5 separate regions of the Homo sapiens genome follow, and regions 2, 3, 4 and 5 are each linked to region 1. Evidence: promoter capture Hi-C in human tissues and cell types (Jung and others, 2019). All regions are on one chromosome and are shown on one strand. Each heading gives the region's core, a stretch centred on a gene start or on the middle of the fragment in contact. The rest is flanking DNA. Distances are from core to core; before and after follow the strand shown.

Region 1 (3,782 bases), core at 395-2,894:
AGCCCTTTAAAAAGCCCGGCGAGGAGAGGTCCAGAAGTAGAGAAAGCAGACGGAGGCAAGCTGTGCCCGCGGGGCAAAGGGACAGTAGAAGGGGCGGGCGCCCGGGTTCCCCGGAAAACCCTCGGCCCCAAGGAATCTCCTGGGGCGGGAGAGCGCGGTTCTAAAACCGAGAGGATAGGAAGGGGAAGGGGGAGTTGTGTTTCAATTTCGGATTCACCAGGATTCATCTCTAGTCACATTTTTCTTCTCAAATTTTTAAATCGAAAAGATAAAAGCCAAAAGAACTTTCATCCCCAGAGCTTTTTATTGGGGGAAAGGAATGTAACTCGGGGTGGTTGTCCTTCACTTCCCTACTCGAATCTTCTCCTAATGCCGAAATGTGTTTACAGGTAGCCTCAGTTTACCAAGTATGTATCTTTTGGGGGTTTAACCTCTCACAAAGCCTTCAACTCACAAACCGCGATCCTTGGAAACCATCCTCCAAAGCAGTGCTTGGAGGCCTCTAAGGCCCCCGGACCAACTCCCGCTGGAAGAAGCCTGCAGGGACTCGGGAATCACGGGAACCTTTCCCGTCGGTTCCGGGCCTGGAGGGCCAGGAAGAGCCGCGCGTCCGCCTTTCGTCCCGCCAGGAACTCCCCATAGGACACGACACCGCAGGAACAAGCGTCCTGGGAGCCCCTGGGATCTTGGCTGTCGTCTCTAGGGACCCTACACCGTGAAATGATAGAGGCGAGGTTCCTTGGGTTCCGCAAGTCGACGAAAATAGCTCGTGGAGAAGGCGCGTCCTGCAACTGCAGTTCGCAAGCTCTCAGGGCGCCCCGCCAGCTGGGGGCCAGATTGGGTGACACTCCCCTCGACGCAGCCTCCGGAGCGGCGCGCACTCTCCAGAGGCCAGCAGGACTGCGCTCTCTACCGCAGAACCTGCTCCAGCTAGGTGTTCTCTCCCCATCTCGCCGTCGCTCTGCCCCCTCACTCTCTCTGGACCTCAGAGCCGGTTCTCTCCTTCCTCCTCCCGCGCTTTCCGTCCGGGGATCGCAACCTCCAGCCCGTGGGCAACGCGTTCAGCCCAAGACCCCACAGTTTTTCCCAACGACCCCCCTACCAAGGGCTTCTCTTGTTTCTGCTCTCCTGCCCCGCACTTCCCAAAGGTGAGAATCTCCCAGGGACTGCTGGACAGAGAAGGCCTGGGCAGGGGCAGTAGCCGATATTTAAAGGTCTTTCAGCGCCAGCATCCCCACCTCCAGCACCACTATTGGAAAATAATTAGGCCACCTTTTGCCTCGGTCACAGCCTGTGACCAGCTTCTTCCCCCCAAGGAGGCTCCTAGACCCCCTCTGCCTGTCTCCCCTCACCAGGTAGCCTTGCTCACCATAGGTCCCTGCAGTAGCGGGCTCGCCAGCAGCAGCTCCTGGGGACCTCTGAACGGTTGCAGTGAACCTGGGCGAGGGCCGGGGACTGTGGCGCTGCAGGCTCGAGATAGCTTGGACGGGAATCCCATCGGGGAGACAAGCTAGATACTCAGCCGGAGCAGCAGCGGCGTCTCAGGCTCGCGTCCCTCAGCTCGGATGCCACACTCACCTAGCTTCCGGGCCGGGCTCCGCGCTCCTTCCCTCCCTCCCTCCTCCTCTGCCTTCTCGCATCTTCCTTCCTCCTCTTTCCCTCCCTCGCTTTCTTTCTTTCCTTCCTCCTCCTCTTCCCCGGCGGCCCCTCCCTCCTTCCCTCCTCCCTCGCTCGCCTCCCTTTCTGGGGATGGGAGCCCCGCCCACATCCTCCCCTCCAGCCGCCCGACCTCGCCTAGCAGGCCCGGGTCCCGGAAGCCCAGGCAGCGCCCGAGTCCGCAGCTGCCGTCGGAGCTGGGACGCCGCTGCCTCCAGCTCTGGGAAGCGGCTGGGGCTCACCTGGGGACCACGTGCGGAGGTACTAGAAAGCATGCACCGACTAGTCGCCGTACCTTCCAAAAATACCCATGGGAGTCTGGGCTTCCCTGAGTTTAGTGTAACTGCTGCCCAAACTGATGATTAAAACACTGAGTAATCACCATTTACCCTGAGTAATTAGAGATAATGAAACACCTCTAAAATCAGGTTATGGAGAAAGGAGCTGTTGGATCGGTTTAAAAGGTGGCCTTCCATAAACTGTTAAAAGATTTCCAAACGTTGAGAAACAGGCTGTGTGCAGAACTGTGTGCCAGAGAGAGATACCTCTTGGGCTGTTAAAAGGTGAATTTCCTTCCAAAACATTCTTAAAGTGCGTTTTGTAGAACACCTTGGTGATGACCCTGAGGTAGACCCCAGTAAATGAGCTCACTTCCCTCCTCCCCCCAAGGCCTAAAGACAGAGGTGGCCTGCAGACAGGCTGGGGCCACGTTTTTTACAGTTAGAAAAATCTGTTTCTAGCTCAGAAGCCGTCTTAAGAACCGACACAGCAGTTATTTTTGTTGGTGTTATGGTTGTTGTTGATTTTTTTGTTCATTTTTGGTGTACCTAAGAGTCCTGACACTCTGTCTTTCCAAGGAGATAACCACAGAAGCAGTAACCTTTTAGGCCACAGGGAGACAAGAAAAGATGCCCCTTGGTCTGTTTTTAAAGGAAGAGGGGAGATGAGGAATTGGCCCTTTCATATAAAAACATTTTAGTAATCATATTAGCAGGGAGGTGGAATGTGGTGGCTTTTAAACCTTCCCAAACAGGAACTAATTTCACACACTGCCTCTGATGGAGCTGTGAGGGAGCTATCAGCCTCATCTCTCTGTTTTACAAACAAGGAAAGGCAGGACTACCAGGTTAAAGGGACTTGCCCAGATCTCTGAAGTAAATCACAGCCTCTGCTCCAGAGCTAATGCTTCAGGGAGGGGTTGAGGCTCATAGCCTGAGCTCCAGGTAGCCAGAGGAGTGCTGGAAGACTGAGCATTTCCTGTCCTGGATTTCTTTCCCTGGGACAGACATGACACTTTACTGTCTCTGCAAAGCATTTAGGTCTTTACTTAAACAGATATTGGCCCTGGGTGGCTCATCTATAAAAACTTTACGTTTATACACCTTCGATATTTAAAAAACAAGAACTACTTCCTGTGTGGAACACAGATTACAAAGGGTGGGAAATATCTGAGATCAGAGAAGCAACTGTCAGAGCAAGGCCAAGACATCCTGCCATCTTTTCCATCTATTAGGCCTAGGTCTTTTGGCCTAATGCACCAAACAACAGAAACAAGCTGTATGGCTTTGGGCAAGTCTTTTCATTCCTATGAGTCTCAGTTTTCTCATCTGCAGAATGAAAGGATTGGGCCAGATCATCTGCATGCTCCCTTTATATTTGAAAATGATTTGATTATTTAATTGTAATTTTAGCCAAAGTCCGTCTTCCTTCATTTTAAGTCACTCCTGAGTTCACTTTCTCTAAGAACCACTGATTAAAACAGGGCAGGGCAATAACACCACCCCAAAAGGAGGACAAAATATACCTGTAGCTTCCAAATAGTCAAAATCACAATTAATTATTAAAAATAATAACAGAAAATTAAAACTCCATTAAATAGTTACCTAATGTTTCTCCTGCAGCATCAGGCATTGTGCTCCTTTAGCATGGTACCTGAAGTCAGGACAGATTAAATGCTCACTGAGCCCCTAAATCAATCACTGTTGTTTTAATCATTAACGAAATGTGGTTCTTAATATTTAAACTCAGAAACAACAGTGATATGCTGGACTTAAAGGCAGGACTTTATTTTACTTTAAAGCACCAATGTCATTTCGGGGTTTTTTTAATTCCAAAGGTTTTTGAAT
Region 2 (3,782 bases), core at 654-3,153, 250 kb after region 1:
GGCCAGCCGCCCCGTCCGGGAGGGAGGTGGGGGGGTCAGCCCCCTGCCAGGCCAGCCGCCCCATCCGGGAGGGAGGTGGGGGGCTCAGCCCCCCGCCCGGCCAGCCGCCCCGTCCAGGAGGTGAGGGGCACCTCTGCCCGGCCGCCCCTACTGGGAAGTGAGGAGCCCCTCTGCCCGGCCAGCTGCTCCGTCCGGGAGGGAGGTGGGGGGGTCAGCCCCCCGCCCGGCCAGCCACCCCGTCCGGGAGGGAGGTGGGGGGGTCAGCCCCCCGCCCGGCCAGCCACCCCGTCCGGGAGGGAGGTGGGGGGGTCAGCCCCCTGCCCGGCCAGCCGCCCCATCCAGGAGGGAGGTGGGGGGGTCAGCACCCCCGCCCGGCCAGCTGCCCCATCCGGGAGGTGAGGGGCGCCTCTGCCCGGCCACCCCTACTGGGAAGTGAGGAGCCCCTCTCCCGGCCAGCCGCCCCGTCTGGGAGGGAGGTGGGGGGGTCAGCCCCCCGCCCGGCCAGCCACCCCGTCCGGGAGGGAGGTGGGGGGGTCAGCCCCCCGCCCGGCCAGCCGCCCCATCCGGGAGGTGAGGGGCGCCTCTGCCCGGCCGCCCCTACTGGGAAGTGAGGAGCCCCTCTGCCCAGCCAGCCGCCCCGTCCGGGAAGGAGGTGGGGGGGGTCAGCCCCCCGCCCGGCCAGCCGCCCCGTCCGGGAGGGAGGAGGGGGGATCAGCCCCCCGCCCGGCCAGCCGCCCCATCCGGGAGGGAGGTGGGGGGGTCAGCCCCCCACCCGGCCAGCCGCCCCGTCCGGGAGGTGAGGGGCGCCTCTGCCCGGCCGCCCCTACTGGGAAGTGAGGAGCCCCTCTGCCCGGCCAGCCGCCCCGTCCGGGAGGGAGGTGGGGGGTTCAGCCCCCCGCCCGGCCAGCCGCCCCGTCCGGGAGGTGAGGGGCGCCTCTGCCCGACCGCCCCTACTGGGAAGTGAGGAGCCCCTCTGCCTGACCAGCCGCCCCGTCCGGGAGGGAGGTGGGGGGGTCAGCCCCCCGCCCGGCCAGCCGCCCTGCCCGGGAGGTGAGGGGCGCCTCTGCCCGGTCGCCCCTACTGGGAAGTGAGGAGCCCCTCTGCCCGGCCACCACCCCGTCTGGGAGGTGTGCCCAGCAGCTCACTGAGAACGGGCCATGATGACAATGGCGGTTTTGTGGAGTAGAAAGGGGGGAAAGGTGGGGAAAGGATTGAGAAATCGGATGGTTGCCATGTCTGTGCGGAGAGAGGTAGACATGGGAGACTTTTCGTTTTGCTCTGTACTAAGAAAAATTATTATCCTGTTGATCGGTGACCTTGCCCCCAACCCTGTGCTCTCTGAAACATGTGCTGTGTCCACTCAGGGTTAAATGGATTAAGGGTGGTGCAAGATGTGCTTTGTTAAACAGATACTTGAAGGCAGCATGCTCCTTAAGAGTCATCACCACTCCCTAATCTCAAGTACCCAGGGACACAAACACTGCGGAAGGCCGCAGGGTCCTCTGCCTAGGAAAACCAGAGACCTTTGTTCACTTGTTTATCTGCTGACCTTCCCTCCACTATTGTCCTATGACCCTGCCAAATCCCCCTCTGCGAGAAACACCCAAGAATGAACAATAAAAATAAAAATAAACAAACAAACAAACAAACAAAATTTTTCTCTTTTCGATAATAAACTAGCTCACTGTAACTTTTTTAATTTATAAACTTTTAAATTTAACTTTTTGACTCTTGTAGTAACACTTAGCTTAAAACATTATAAAGTTGTATAAAAATAATTTCTTTCTTTATATCCCTATTCTGTAAGCTTTTTTCTATTAAATTTTTTTTATTACTTTTAAAATTTGCTTGTTAAAAACTAAGACACAAACACATACATTAGGTTAGGCCTATACAAGGCCAGGATTGTCAGGATATCACTATGCAATAGGAATTTTTCAGCTTGATTCTGATCTTTGGGACCGCCATCATAGGCGCGGTCTGTCATTGACAGAAACGTCATTTTGTGGCATATGACTGTATTTTAATGGAAGTTCCTGCAAAGGAATAGGTCAGTAGTTTAGACAGAGTATGCAATTGCCCTCTTAGAGTCATTTTGCTTTGAGTCTATCCAAGGCAGGATCGTAAGTAACCAGGGAAACAGATGAGGATAACTTGTTGGGAGGACAAGAGTCTATTAACCAGATCAGCCTTCAAATAATTCTGGTGATAGAAACCATCACCTGAAACTGTACTTAACATTTTAAATCAGATAAACTAAATAGGCAGGAATTACTAAGATTCAATCATAGAGGATTTGAAGTAGTAGAAATTTAGGACAATTGACCTGGGACTATAAAAGTGGCAGAATGAAGCCTCCCCAGATTCACGTGGAATCCGTGCTGAAACAATATCCTGAGTGACTGTGTTCCCAAATCTGCTGTCATTGTTGGTTCTAACCCAGGTAAAGTAGGGTGCGTGTGTGTGTGTGTGTGTGTGTGTGTGTGTGTGGTCAAAGACCCAAGGTCATGGTAAGGAGCACACCAGCTCTCTTACTTGGCCTTCATGGACCAAAAGAGAAACTGGGAGATCCAAACCCATATGCCTAAACCTGTAACACAGAGGGCTATTTTTACCCAGGCAAGAATCTAATGATCAGAGCAAAGAGGAAGCAATGTGAAGCCATCAAGATGAGACTTCAAGATGATCTGAGATGACAAAAAAATCAGTGGCAGAATTAGGGGAACTGGCCAGACCTGACTTCCCCCAACTGGGAATCTGAGACGGGCGGATTACTTGAGGTCAGGATTTCAAGACCAGCCTGGCCAACATGGTGAAACCACATCTCTACTAAGAATACAAAATTACCTGGGCATGGTGGTGTGTGCCTGTAATCCCAGCTACTCGGGAGGAGGGAGGGTCACTTGAACCCAGGAGGTGGAGGTTAACAGTGAGCTAATAATGATGCCGCTGCACTCCAACCTGGGTGACAGAGCAAGATTCTGTCTCAAAAAAAAAAAAAAACCAGGGAAACTTTTACCCTCTTAAATCTCAAAAATAAATAAATAAATATAGCACTTTGGGGCAGTCAGTAAAGGGTTGAAGTAAATGGGAAATGGTTCCTTTCGCCATAATAGAATGTTCATTCTGAAAAGTGGAGTATGGAGGCACTAATTATGACATGGTCTAGAGCAAGGTTCTATATATATGTATACATGAGTTTTAAAAGGGGGTGGAGGTTCCTTTAAATACATACAGTTATCTCCAAAGGAATGTTCTAGTTCCTGGGATTGGCTTGGGGAGGGGGTGAGGCTTACAGCAGGGTTAGGTTCCAGAAGCTTAACAGGCAGGACATTAGAGTCCAGGGGGGCAAGAAGCAGAGACTGAGTGAAAATACAGAACCACATTCAAGAGAGCATGTGGGGATCAACCCGGAGAATCCAGTCCAACCCAAGATCAAGGGGCTGGCTCCAAGCCAAGAACAGGAAAAGCAGCCAGGAGAGTGAAAGAAGGAAAGGAGGAAAGACTGGCCCAAAGTCAGAGAGTTAGAGAGCTTATTGTATACAAGATCAGGTGCCTGAAGGGCTCTCATATTGGGCTCCAGCCACACAGGTTTGAATAGTCAACCTGGCTTAAAGGAACACATAAGAGTGAAATTGAATGATCCAAGGAAAAATAAATGCCAGAAAAACTCTGTCTCCACTCTCAGCTATCTCAACTATCAATCTCATTTCTCACACACTCGTAAACAAATTTGTTTATGAGATGCCTGTCCACATTTGGGAATCATTTGGGAATACTTT
Region 3 (3,782 bases), core at 841-3,340, 200 kb after region 1:
TGAAATAATAATTTAAAAATTACTAATACTATTACATCTATACTATTGTTCTATTACAACTTTCGAAATATGTGAATGTAGTCCTTTAATTTTTTAATTAAAGATTTCAACTGGCTGATGAAAAAAGCCATGGAGTTATATCAAAAACAAAAAAAGAAAATTGTCACATTGTAGCTAAAGTAGCAATAAAGCATTATTTATACCTCTTAGAATAGAAGAACTTTAAAAGAGGGGTAACATATCATACTTAAGGTTAATGGAGAAAAGAATGTGCCCATACTTTGCTGGTAGAAATGTTGAGACCTTTTGCAGTCTGGCAAAATCTATTCAAACTAAAAAGACATGTTAATTTGGCTCAGTAATTCTATTCCTTGGAATCTATCAAAACCACCAACATGAAATGAATACATGAAGATGATCATTGTAGTATTTTTTACAGTGGATAAAAAGAACCAAGCCAACCAAATGAATTCTCATCAGTAAGGATTAAATAAATTCATAATTCTTATGGATATCACCAATTAAATGTACCATGTGACTTGGTAGAATTTCTATAAGGTATTCTGAGAGAAGCAAGACACAGAAAACTGGATATATTATTGTATTAGTCAATTTTCACACTGCTATAAAGATACTACCTGAGACTGGGTAATTTATGAAGAAAAGAGATTTAATTGACTCACAGTTCTGCATGGCCAGGAGGTCTCAGGAAACTTACAATCATGGCAGAAGGCAAAGGGGGAGCAAGACATGTTTTACATGGTGACAGGAGAGAGAGAGAGCACAGGGGAAACTGCCAGACACTTATCAAACAACCAGATCTCATGAGAACTCCCTCACTATTACAAGAACAACAAGGGGGAAACCATCCCCATGATCCAATCACCTCCCACCAGGTCCCTTTCTCGACATCTGGGGATTACAATTCCGATTACAATTCGAGGTGAGATTTGGGTGGGGACACAGAGCCAAACCATATCAAATGTATTCCTAGTTTTATTTTAAAATGGCTAAAAAGCATTCAAGAATATATATATGTATGTGCGTGTGTGTGTGTGTGTGTGTGTGTGTGTGTGTGTGTGTGTGTGTGTGGTATATCTTTGTAATGTATGTATATTTTATTTCTTAAAAAACTTTTAGGCTCCGGGGTGCATGTGCAGGTTTATTATATAGGTAATCTTGTGTCATGGGGGTTTGTTGTACAGATTATTTCGTCACCAACTTACTAAGCCTAGTATCCATTAGTTATTTTTTTGCTGATTCTCTCCCTTCTCTCACCCGCCACCCTCAAGTGGGCCCCAGTGTCTGTTGTTCCCTTTTTTGTCCATGAGTTCTCATCATTTAGCTCCCACTTATAAGTGAGAACATGCAGCATTCGGTTTTCTGGTTCCTGCGTTAGTTTGCCAAGGATAATGGCTTCCAGCTCCATCTGTGTGCCCATAAAGGACATGTTCTCATCCTTTTTTATGGTTGCATAGTATTCCATAGTATATATGTACACATTTTTTCTTTTTTTTTTTTTTTTCTTGAGATGGAGTCTCATTCTGTCACCCAGGCTGGAGTGCAGTGGTGTGATCTTGGCTCACTGCAACCTCCACCTCCCAGGTTCAAGTGATTCTCCTGCCTCAGCCACCCAAGTAGCTGGGATTACAGACGCCCACCACCACACCCTACTAATTTTTGTGTTTTTATCAGCGATGGGGTTTCACCACATTGGCCAGGTTAGTTTTGAACTCCTGATCTCAGGTGATCCACCCACCCCAGCTTCTCAAAGTGCTGGGATTACAGGCGTGAATCACCGCACCCGGCTGCACATTTTCTTTATCTAGTCTACCACTGATGGGCATTTAGGTTGATTCCACGTCTTTGCTACTGTAAATAGTGCACAATGAACATTCACGTGCATGTGTCTTTATAGTAGAATAATTTATATTCCTTTAGGTATATACTCAGTAATGAGACTGCTGAGTTGAATAATAGTTCTGTCTTTAGGTCTTTGAGAAATCACCACAGTCTTCCACAACGGGTAAACTAATTTACACTCCCACCAACAGTGTATAAGCATTCCCTTTTCTCCACTACCTTGCCATCTGTTATTTTTGACTTTTTAGTAATAGCTATTCTGACTGATGTGAGATAGTACCTCATTGCGGTTTTGATTTGCATTTCTCTAATGATCAATGATGTTGAGCTTTTTTTCATATGCCTGTTGGCTGCATGTATGTCTTCTTTCGAAAGCTGTCTGTTCATGTTATTTGCTCCCACCTTTTTTTTTTTTTTTTTGAGACAGGGTGTTGCTCTGTCACCTAGGCTGGAGTGCAATGGCACAATCTCAGCTCACTGAAGCCTCTGTCCCTGGGTTCAACTGATCCTCCTACCTCAACCTCCCAGGTAGCTGAGACTACAGGCGCACACCATCACGCCATTTTTTTTTTTTTCAAATTCTGAGTAGAGACAGGGTATCGCCATGTTGCCCAGGCTGATCTCAAACTTCTGAGCTCAAGTGATCCACTTGCCTCAGCCTCCCAAAGTGCTGGGATTACAAGTGTGAGCCGCTGCATCCGGCCTCACTTACCCACTTTTTAATGTATTTTTTTTTCTTGTAAGTTTATGTTCCTTATAGATGCTAGATATTAGGCCTTTGTCAGAGGCATAGTTTGCAAATGTTTTCTCCCATTCTGTAGGTTGTCTGTTTACTCTGTTAATAGTTTCTTTTGCTGTGTAGAAGCTCTTAAGCTTAATTACATCTGATTTGTCAATTTTTGCTTTTGTTTCAATTGCTTTTGATGTCTTTGTCATGAAATCTTGTCCATTCCTCTATCCAGAAAGGTATTGCCTATGTTGTCTTCCAGGGTTTTTATAGTTTTGGGTTTTACATTTAAGTCTTTAATCCACCTTGAGTTGATTTTTGTATACATAAGAAAGGAGTCCGATTTCAATCTTCTGCATATGGCTAGCCAGTTATCCCAACACCATTTATCAAATAGGGAGTCCTTTCCCTATTGCTTGGTTTTGTCAGCTTTGTCGAAGATCAGATGGTTGTAGGTATGCAGACTTATTTCTCACCTCTCTATTCTGTTCCAAGTAATGTATGTATATTTTCATTTGACTGAACAAGCATACAGAAAAAATATGGTAAATTATAAGCCAGGTTATTACTGTTACAGGGCAGAAGTAATGCTCACATTTATATACATATTTTAAATTGTATTTATGCATATAGATGTAAGTTTCAAAATAAATTTTTTAAATGCTGTAAAAATGCTAACTCCGTTAAGACATAGCTCTTAATGGCTAGAAAGGACAGACAGAAAATCAAACTCTCTGTGGTTGCATGTTTAATAGAAGCACTTGTTTCTATCACCCCAAATCAGCTGTCTTTCATCAGTGACATCTAAATCTGATCTCTCGAGCTTTCTTACCTTGACCTCTGAAATTATGCACAGTAGCCCCAACCCTTGTCTTACTGCTCCCCCATCTTCACAAAAGCTAACACTTCATCTCTGCTCTAGAGACCACCATCTCCTGCCCTTTCCAGCAACTATCATACATGTACTCTCTTCTGTCTCTTCAGTCCCTTCCTCCAGCTATGGGCTCAAATCTCTTCTCCCCAAGATTCTTTTCTACTTGAGAACTCCTTGCACAGTCAGATTTCACAAGAGTAAAATGGTCTGTTTTAATCATCTATTGATGACTTTCAAACTTCAATCTTTTTTTTTCTAGTCTAAGCTCCCTATATCCAATAGCCTACACATCATCTCCACCAAGGCATCTCAAGGCAT
Region 4 (3,782 bases), core at 885-3,384, 160 kb before region 1:
CTTTCAAAGGGTCCAGTCTCTGTCTCTTCCCCTACCCCGTCTCCTCCCTCTCCTGTAGCCTCTTCTTCAGGAAGCATCTGGTCTAAACAATTGCAACTACAAATAAAAGAGGTAACCCAAATCTCAAGTAGAAATGCAGGGTACACCAAAGTCCCTTGGGGAATCTTAAAATGCATATTCCCAGGCCTCACTCCCAGAGAGTCTAATACTGAATATTTAGCACAGGGCCTGAGAATATGCATTTTAAAGGCTTGTTTGATGATGCTGATGCAGGTAGCTCAAGGACCACACTCTGGGGGAAACTTTATGCTGTGCTGTGGAACTGACTATCTGTTCTCAATAGATGTATCAAGGTGATGGGGAGAGACCAACACAGTGCAAACACTCGTCCCCCATCATTGCTGCCTTTCCTCTGCCTTTAGGGCCTGCAATCTAACAAGGTTTCATCAAGGACCAGAATTCTAATTGACAGAGGATCTGGTATGGCTGGAGAGAAAACAGCATTTCAGGTGAGGCAGAGCAGTAACAAATGGTAACAAGCTACATTCCAGCTTAAGTTTCTCTGAGCTGACAACTCACACCCTCCATCAAATCCACTCTTACCAGCACATTCTAGAGTTAAATGACTCCACTGGCAGAAAGTCCTGCCTCCCAGCTCACCTGCATAGTGCATACTTGAAATTTGGAGCCGTTTTTTGTTGTTTTTAATTCTGCACTCAACAGCAACAGGGACATCAAACACCATCCTCAGATAGTTGAGAACCATTTATGCAGTGTTAAGTAACACACTCAGAAAGGCCATGGTAAGGGAAATGCTAAGTTCAAGTATGCTCTGAATCAAGATTTTGCATGAATTCTTCCATGGTTTGAATTCCTATTTATAATAACAGTTTGGAAGGTCTTCCATAGGTCCTTTCAGCTTTCAGTAGTACAACTTGGAAATAGTTTATTCTCTCATAACTCATATGGGAAGTGTCTGCCAAGCCTCAAACAGTCTTTTTTTTTCCCTGACAAATACTTCAAGACAGGGCTGCACTCAAGCATTCAAATTTGGTAGCATTAACTCTAGTAACATAACTCTGACAGTCCACTTAAGGAGGGGAGAAAAATCATAAAACCCTTCTGCTTCACTTAATTTAATGTTTGACAAGTCCCTTAAAGAATAACTGGGATATTCTCACCAAATGCTTTAAGTCCTGTTTTTACCACATCTGTCCCTGGAGTTTGTTCATGGACATCTTATGATATAATAAATCCTTCTTTCCTGACACCCAGCCCCCAAACAAGGAATGTGTTAGACAGACGGTATTAATCACTGGGTGGCAATCTGATTTCGAGGCAGATATCGTGTGACAGGAGAATGGCATGCTTCATTTTGCATTGTCCTCACCACAAGATGCCTTTTAGTCAAAGCTGGTCAGGTGAGAACAAATATTTTTCTCTATTTAAGAATTTAATGGGATCAGCCCAAATTCAGTTCATGAACTCAACTTAGTCACATGTGATTGTGGCTAGACATCAAATCCAGCAACAGAGGCTGGATTTCTGTAGTGGAGAATAAAATGGGGATAATTGTGGTGTTTTTTTCCCTGTGGTCTTCTATGTATCCTGGTAGGCATTCCAAAATTGGAAAATTGGTATTTTTCTGATGTTGGACATTGCTATTTGAGTCAGTCACATTATGCAGATGCATTTCAGACTTTCTGTAGAGAGTTTTGTTGTTAGAAAAACTATCCTACTAAGTAGGATCAAAGGCACTTTCTCTTGCAGAGTAGTTTTCAAGGAGAAGATAAAAGCAATTTTTATTGGTAAAAGCTAACTCACATTTAGTTAACCAACAAGCCAACCGGAAATCATTTATTGAGCCTCTCTTATTGCCATTATACTGTAACTCTATAACAGTATAACAATACAATAGGACCAGTCCTTACTTTCCAGAACTACAAAATCTGGGTAAACAGACAAGACTTACTTAGGGTGAGGGAACAATTATAACTCCCATATTCAGCCCTGTGTATGCTTGGTCCATGATAGATATTTAATCATTTCTTACATATACAATAATTGACTGCTAAACTTTAAGGTACAAATAATAAATTCTGGTCATCAGACAAGAGATAATGTGAGGTTTTCTCAAGCTTCTTTGACCATGGAACCCAGCTTTCAGGAAGCTCTTCAGGTAATCATGTTCCATAGAACTTGCTTTGGGAACTTTGGCTCAAATGCACATGGGAGAGGTGGAATTCCTACTATATGAATTCCAGGAAGAGGAGCAAAGAATTAAATGGATGGAAATGAGGGGAGAATCGAGGCAGAGAGAATAACAAAAACATAAGGTGAGGACAAAATTAACCTGAAGCATGGGGAGGTAAAAAATTTTTACCTTTTATAATTGAAATCATTAGAGAATTAAGTGGCTTTTACAATATTCTATATTTCTAAATAGCATCTGTTTTAGCTGAAATAGTGAAAGCCTGAGGGAGGCAAACTTGTGACAGTACAATAAACAATTGGTTTTGTATTCTTATGGAAAACTAGCAATCAGTGAAACCATGTTTAGGGTGCAGAGCACAGACCACCATGCCCAATAGTCTCATAGTTCTCTATGTAAGCTTCTGTAGAAAACAGGGATAGGGGATGGGTGGGGGGACCTGAGGAGGAACATGGGGAAGAAGGGGAAAGTCTTATTTTTTGTACCTTTTTCTAAAGTAGGAGATGCCAATATGACATTTGTGACTCTAGATGTTTTTGTTTCTTCACTGATTTTTCTATATTTTATAATGGCCTTCTAAGGGCATTATCATTTCTTACCATCTCTTTTACTTTCTTTCTTTCTTTTTTTTTTTCCTGGCTGTTTCTTCTTCCAAATGAATCTTCAGGAAAATTCAGGTTTGCTACAGGATTTAGACAACTTTTTCTGTTCTGTCTTGAATGTGCAATTAATCAGTTGTGTGTTGAGCGAATCTCCTAAATTTCTTTATTTCAGCTTCCTCTTTTGCAATAAAGGAGGTGAACTGGAAGATGGTCTCTAAAATCTTATCCTCCCTACTAAAAGAGCCATTTTTGATATTGAGACAACCCCTGTCAAACAAAGAAAATCCACACTCCACCTAAGCCCTGTCCCAGTGATCACTGCCACCTGGGGGCAGCCCTTTTGCTGTGTTTATGGCCTTTCCACAAAGTTCCATCACTACACTCAATCAGCCTATATTCTTATGGTGTTTCTGCAGGTCTGTCTTTTCTACTACAATGTGAAGTGCTTGATTCAGGGGCCATATGTTTTTCATATTTTCTTACCTAGTCTTACTCCAGGAGGCAACACTCCAATGCAATATGGCCTAGTGGTTAAGAACCTGGTGATTTCAGTCTTGGCTCAGCCACTTACATGTTGTATGGCCTTTGGAAAATTGCTTATGCTCCCTTTGCCTCTGTTTCTTCACCTGTAAAGGGAGGATAAAAATAATAGCTTTTACTTTGTGATCCCATTTAACAAACACAGAGCACAAGGCACGGTGATTAAAAAAAAATAGCTTATTTTCAGTAACCAACACATACCAAATGACAAAATCTTTGAATAAAGGAATAAGTCTACCAAAAGGAAGTATGGGAATGGATTGGTGGATTGGTTTTATATTTATAAAACCAATGTTATTATATATATTTACACACATACACATATATATGTTTTCCCTGCAAATTTTATATATAATATGTTAATGTGTATATATTATTTGTATATATTAATATATTTGTATGTCTATTGTTTATATATTAATATATGT
Region 5 (3,782 bases), core at 888-3,387, 130 kb before region 1:
AAGATGCACTGAAAAACCCAGACAAGAAAAAATAAAGAATAAAAAAGTAAAGATCAGAAAGAAAAAATTCTGGTATTATTGGTAAATGATGTGATTGTCTAATTGAAAAATTCAAAAGAATTTCCATATAAATTATGAGAATTAATAAGAAAGTTTATTAGTTTAGTGAGTTTTCTGGATATAAAGTCAAAGTCAATTGCATTTCTATACACCAGCAACAAACTATACAAAATATATATGTATATTTGTATATGTATATATGTGTATAGGTATGCATATGTATAGATATAATTTGTAAATATAAAATGTATATATAATTTTCTAAAGTGTTGTTCACTACAGCAACAAAAAATAACATACCTAGGAATAAATCTTCAAAATGTATATGACTTTTATGAAGTAAATTATAAAATGTTACTGAAATACATTAAATGAGATCTTTATAAAAGAGATATCACATTTACAGATAGAAAGACTCAGTAATGAAAAACATGTCAATTTCCCCAGTTGACCTAGAGATTTTGTATAATTTCAGTCGAAATCCTATAGAACTTTTTTATTGAGTTAATCAAGACAATTTTAAAATAGAGAAACATGAAGAACCAAGAATTGCCAAAACACTCCCGAAGAAACACAAGCTGAAGAGACTGCATCTACCAGAGAGAAAGACTTTTTATATGGCTATAATAAAAATAATATAATGTTAGTTAAAAGAGAGACAAAAGACCAATGGAACAGATTAGAGAATCCAGAAATAGAACCATAATAATATAGAGAAATCTGCTTTATGAAAGAGCAGGCAGGGCAAATCAGTGAGGATGAACTCTTTAAGATACAGCACTGGGACAATTACAGCTCTATATGGAAAAAGATCAGTGAAATTGTATTTTCATCTCACACTATTTACAAAAGTTTATTGAAAGTATTATACAAGGAAAATTATAAAACTTTAAGAAGACATCGTAGAAGAATAAATGTATGCCTTTGGTTAAGGAAGGATTTCTTAAACAGTATACAAAATGTGCAAGCCATAAGAAAAAAAGATTAAGTGAAATTATATGAAAAGAAAGACCTTTGTTCTTTAAAGGATGCCATGATGAAAGTGAAATTACCAGCTACAAATTGGGATAACTTATTTGCCACACATATAATGGACTAAGAATGGTAATCAAAATATTGTAAAAACTCCTAAAAATCTATTTTAAAAAATCAAACAATCCAGTAGAAAAATGAGCAAAGAACTTAGACACTTGGAGGAAGAAAAAACAATGATGACCACTGAATATATAGAAGTATGCCCAACCTCATTTATCACTAACTAGATGTGTTAGATTACGTTGTATCAACTTAGTTAAGCTGGGAGCTCTTTTTCCCAGAGTCCCTGTCCTTCTATCATATTTGGTTAGAGTTGATAAAACATAGTAATTTGGAAGGTGGATGTGAAACAGTGGTTATAACCCTCTGAAGGTCTTAGTGACGAAGAAATGCAAAAGTACCCCACAGGTTATAGTTTAACCAAGAGCTGTGACCAACTCTTCTTCACTACTGGCCCAGTAGTCAATGGCCCAGGCCCCTCAACCAAATGTTTGGCTGTGGAGCCACCAGCCAGTTTCTGCACAAAAGCAAGAGCTTCCTCTGCACCTCTTCACAAACTTCCTCTTTATGGTCCTACTTTCTCAGCAGGATGTGCTTTATTTATCAATCACCCTGCAAGCTTTGACTTGCCCCCCATGCCAGTGCTGCGGGAAGCTGCTTAGGGACTAGCCATCTCTGACCCCTCAACCCCTTGTAGTCTTTCACCTCCCTGGTTCCTCCCACATTCATGTGAGCTCTAATTGCAATGATAAATTCTTTATCTTGTAATAGTTATCACGACTGTGCTTCCCCAACTGGACTCTGATTGATACATCAAACAAAACACAACAGTGCTATTGGTATGACTTCCTTCACCTCCTTCTGGTCTTTGTTCAAATGCCCACCTGACCACTCTATTGAAGTTCAGTCCCACCCCAGCACCAGCACTACCTAGTCCCGCTCTGTTTTAATTTTCTCTTTAGTACTTACCAGATACTAAAATACTAAATAACTTTCATATATATTTTATTTGCTGTGTGTATTCTCCACTAGAATGTAAGTTCTATGAGGGCAAGGGCTTTAGATTTTGTTTTGTTTTTGTTTATTTTGTCTGTTTTATTCACTGATATGTCTCTATCAGGCACTTAATGAATGTTTGTTAGGTAAAAAAGTGGGATTTAATTTTGCATACATTAGATTGGCAAAATAACTAAAAAGTCAAAACATGCCAAAAATCCGCAAGGATGTAAAGCGAAGGGCATTTTTATACATTTATACTACAATCACTCTGAGAAAAACTTGGCATTACCTAGAAATTTAAATATGTATATATCCTACAACAGAGGGGTCCTCAACCCCCAGGGGCCACAGACTGGTACGAGTCTGTGGCCTGTTAGGAACTGGGCCGCACAGCAAGATGTGAGTGGCAAGCAAGCGAGCAAAGCTTCATCTGTATTTAGCCACTCCCCATGGCTTGCATTACTGTGTGAGCTGTACCTCCTGTCAGATTAGTGGTTCTATTAGATCCTCATAGAAGCGTGAACACTATGGTGAACTGCACATGTGAGGGATCTTGGTTGTGCTCTCCTTATGAGAATCTAATGCCTAATGATCTGTCACTATTTCCCATCGCTCCCAGATGGGACAATCTAGTTGCAGCAAAACAAGCTCAGGGCTCCCACTGATTCTACATTATGGAGAGTTGTATAATTACTTCATTACCCATTACAATGTAATAATAATAGAAATAAAGTGCGCAATAAGTGTAATGTGCTTGAATCATCCCAAAACCATCCCCCCGACAACCCCTGGTCTATGGAAAAATTGTCTTACATGAAACCAGTCCCTGGGGCCAAAAAGGTTGGGGACCACTGCTACAACACAGAAATTCCACTTCTAACTCCTCACTGAAGGGAGAAAGGATAATCTCTGCCACAGCTGTAAAACAGGAATCTATACAGCAGTGAAAATGAATGAATTAGATTTGTACACAAAAATGTAATTAATCTCTTAAGTATAAAGTTGAGCAAAGAGGGATTCATAGCATAGAGCATTATTCCATCAACATAAATTTCAAAAGTATGGAAAACTAAACATTGTATTTCTAGAGATACATACAGATGTGGTAAAACTATTTAAAGAAAGAAAACAAATAATAGATAAAAAATTCAGTCCAGTGGCTGTCTCTGGGGCAGGGAGAGGGATGAAATTGAAGAGGAGCACCTGGAATTTTTCAGGAGATTATTAATGCTCTATTTATTAAGCAGGATGGCATTTTAATGAGTTTTATTTTTGATATATTTAATATTTTACCTAAATTTTTATTTTTTATTTTGATTTTTAAATTTCTATATATTCATAGTGTGCAAGTGCAATTTTGCTACATCAATGTATCACATTGCAGTGAAGGCAGGACCTTCGGTGCATCTATCACTAGAGCGACGCACATTGTACCCACCAAGTGACCACCCGTCATTCACCCCCTTAAAATTTTATTTTAAAACTTTTGCCAAAGAGATGATACACTGTCCAGAAATAGGAAAACTTTGTCATGAATTAGTATAATAAAATTGAATCCTAGTTTTTATGCCTTTTATTCATCCTTAAGATAGTACTTGAACTGACAAATACTTCTTAAATTCTTTCAAAATTGTATATTTGAAGTTTTGGCCTAGGCTCTTGGATTACAAGAAACAGAAGTCCCCTCA

Evidence for each region. The method cuts DNA at HindIII sites, captures the fragments that hold promoters and counts their contacts. A contact is called where the count stands out against the background at its distance.
Region 2: a contact is called between a fragment that was not itself captured here and the fragment with the promoter of BMP4 in region 1, in 1 of the 25 tissues and cell types used here (aorta).
Region 3: a contact is called between a fragment that was not itself captured here and the fragment with the promoter of BMP4 in region 1, in 1 of the 25 tissues and cell types used here (H1 embryonic stem cells).
Region 4: a fragment that was not itself captured here is called in contact with the fragment with the promoter of BMP4 in region 1 in 1 of the 25 tissues and cell types used here (H1 embryonic stem cells).
Region 5: a fragment that was not itself captured here is called in contact with the fragment with the promoter of BMP4 in region 1 in 1 of the 25 tissues and cell types used here (mesenchymal stem cells).

What each region holds. Positions count from the first base shown.
Region 1 is chr14:53,955,181-53,958,962 of GRCh38, forward strand. It overlaps BMP4 (bone morphogenetic protein 4), which reads right to left and starts at 1,645. Exons shown (of 4, transcript NM_001202.6): 1 at 1,370-1,645. It overlaps LOC124903317, which reads left to right. Exons shown (of 2, transcript XM_047432035.1): 1 at 1-1,148. The coding sequence starts at 721. RefSeq lists promoters at 1-543, 1,471-3,589, 1,471-2,813 and silencers at 769-878, 1,528-1,607. The HindIII fragment of the contact is 13,246 bases long and covers 1-3,782 here.
Region 2 is chr14:54,203,272-54,207,053 of GRCh38, forward strand. No RefSeq gene overlaps it. Among named protein-coding and RNA genes, the nearest start is that of CDKN3, 190 kb to the right of the region's middle. The HindIII fragment of the contact is 3,845 bases long and covers 1-3,782 here.
Region 3 is chr14:54,153,361-54,157,142 of GRCh38, forward strand. All of the region lies in intron 4 of LOC105370507 (a long non-coding RNA gene), which reads right to left. Among named protein-coding and RNA genes, the nearest start is that of BMP4, 200 kb to the left of the region's middle. The HindIII fragment of the contact is 3,060 bases long and covers 561-3,620 here.
Region 4 is chr14:53,789,957-53,793,738 of GRCh38, forward strand. LINC02331 (long intergenic non-protein coding RNA 2331) reads right to left here. Exons shown (of 6, transcript NR_184221.1): 3 at 3,386-3,440. Among named protein-coding and RNA genes, the nearest start is that of LINC02331, 59 kb to the right of the region's middle. The HindIII fragment of the contact is 4,401 bases long and covers 1-3,782 here.
Region 5 is chr14:53,822,720-53,826,501 of GRCh38, forward strand. All of the region lies in intron 2 of LINC02331 (long intergenic non-protein coding RNA 2331), which reads right to left. Among named protein-coding and RNA genes, the nearest start is that of LINC02331, 26 kb to the right of the region's middle. The HindIII fragment of the contact is 4,607 bases long and covers 1-3,782 here.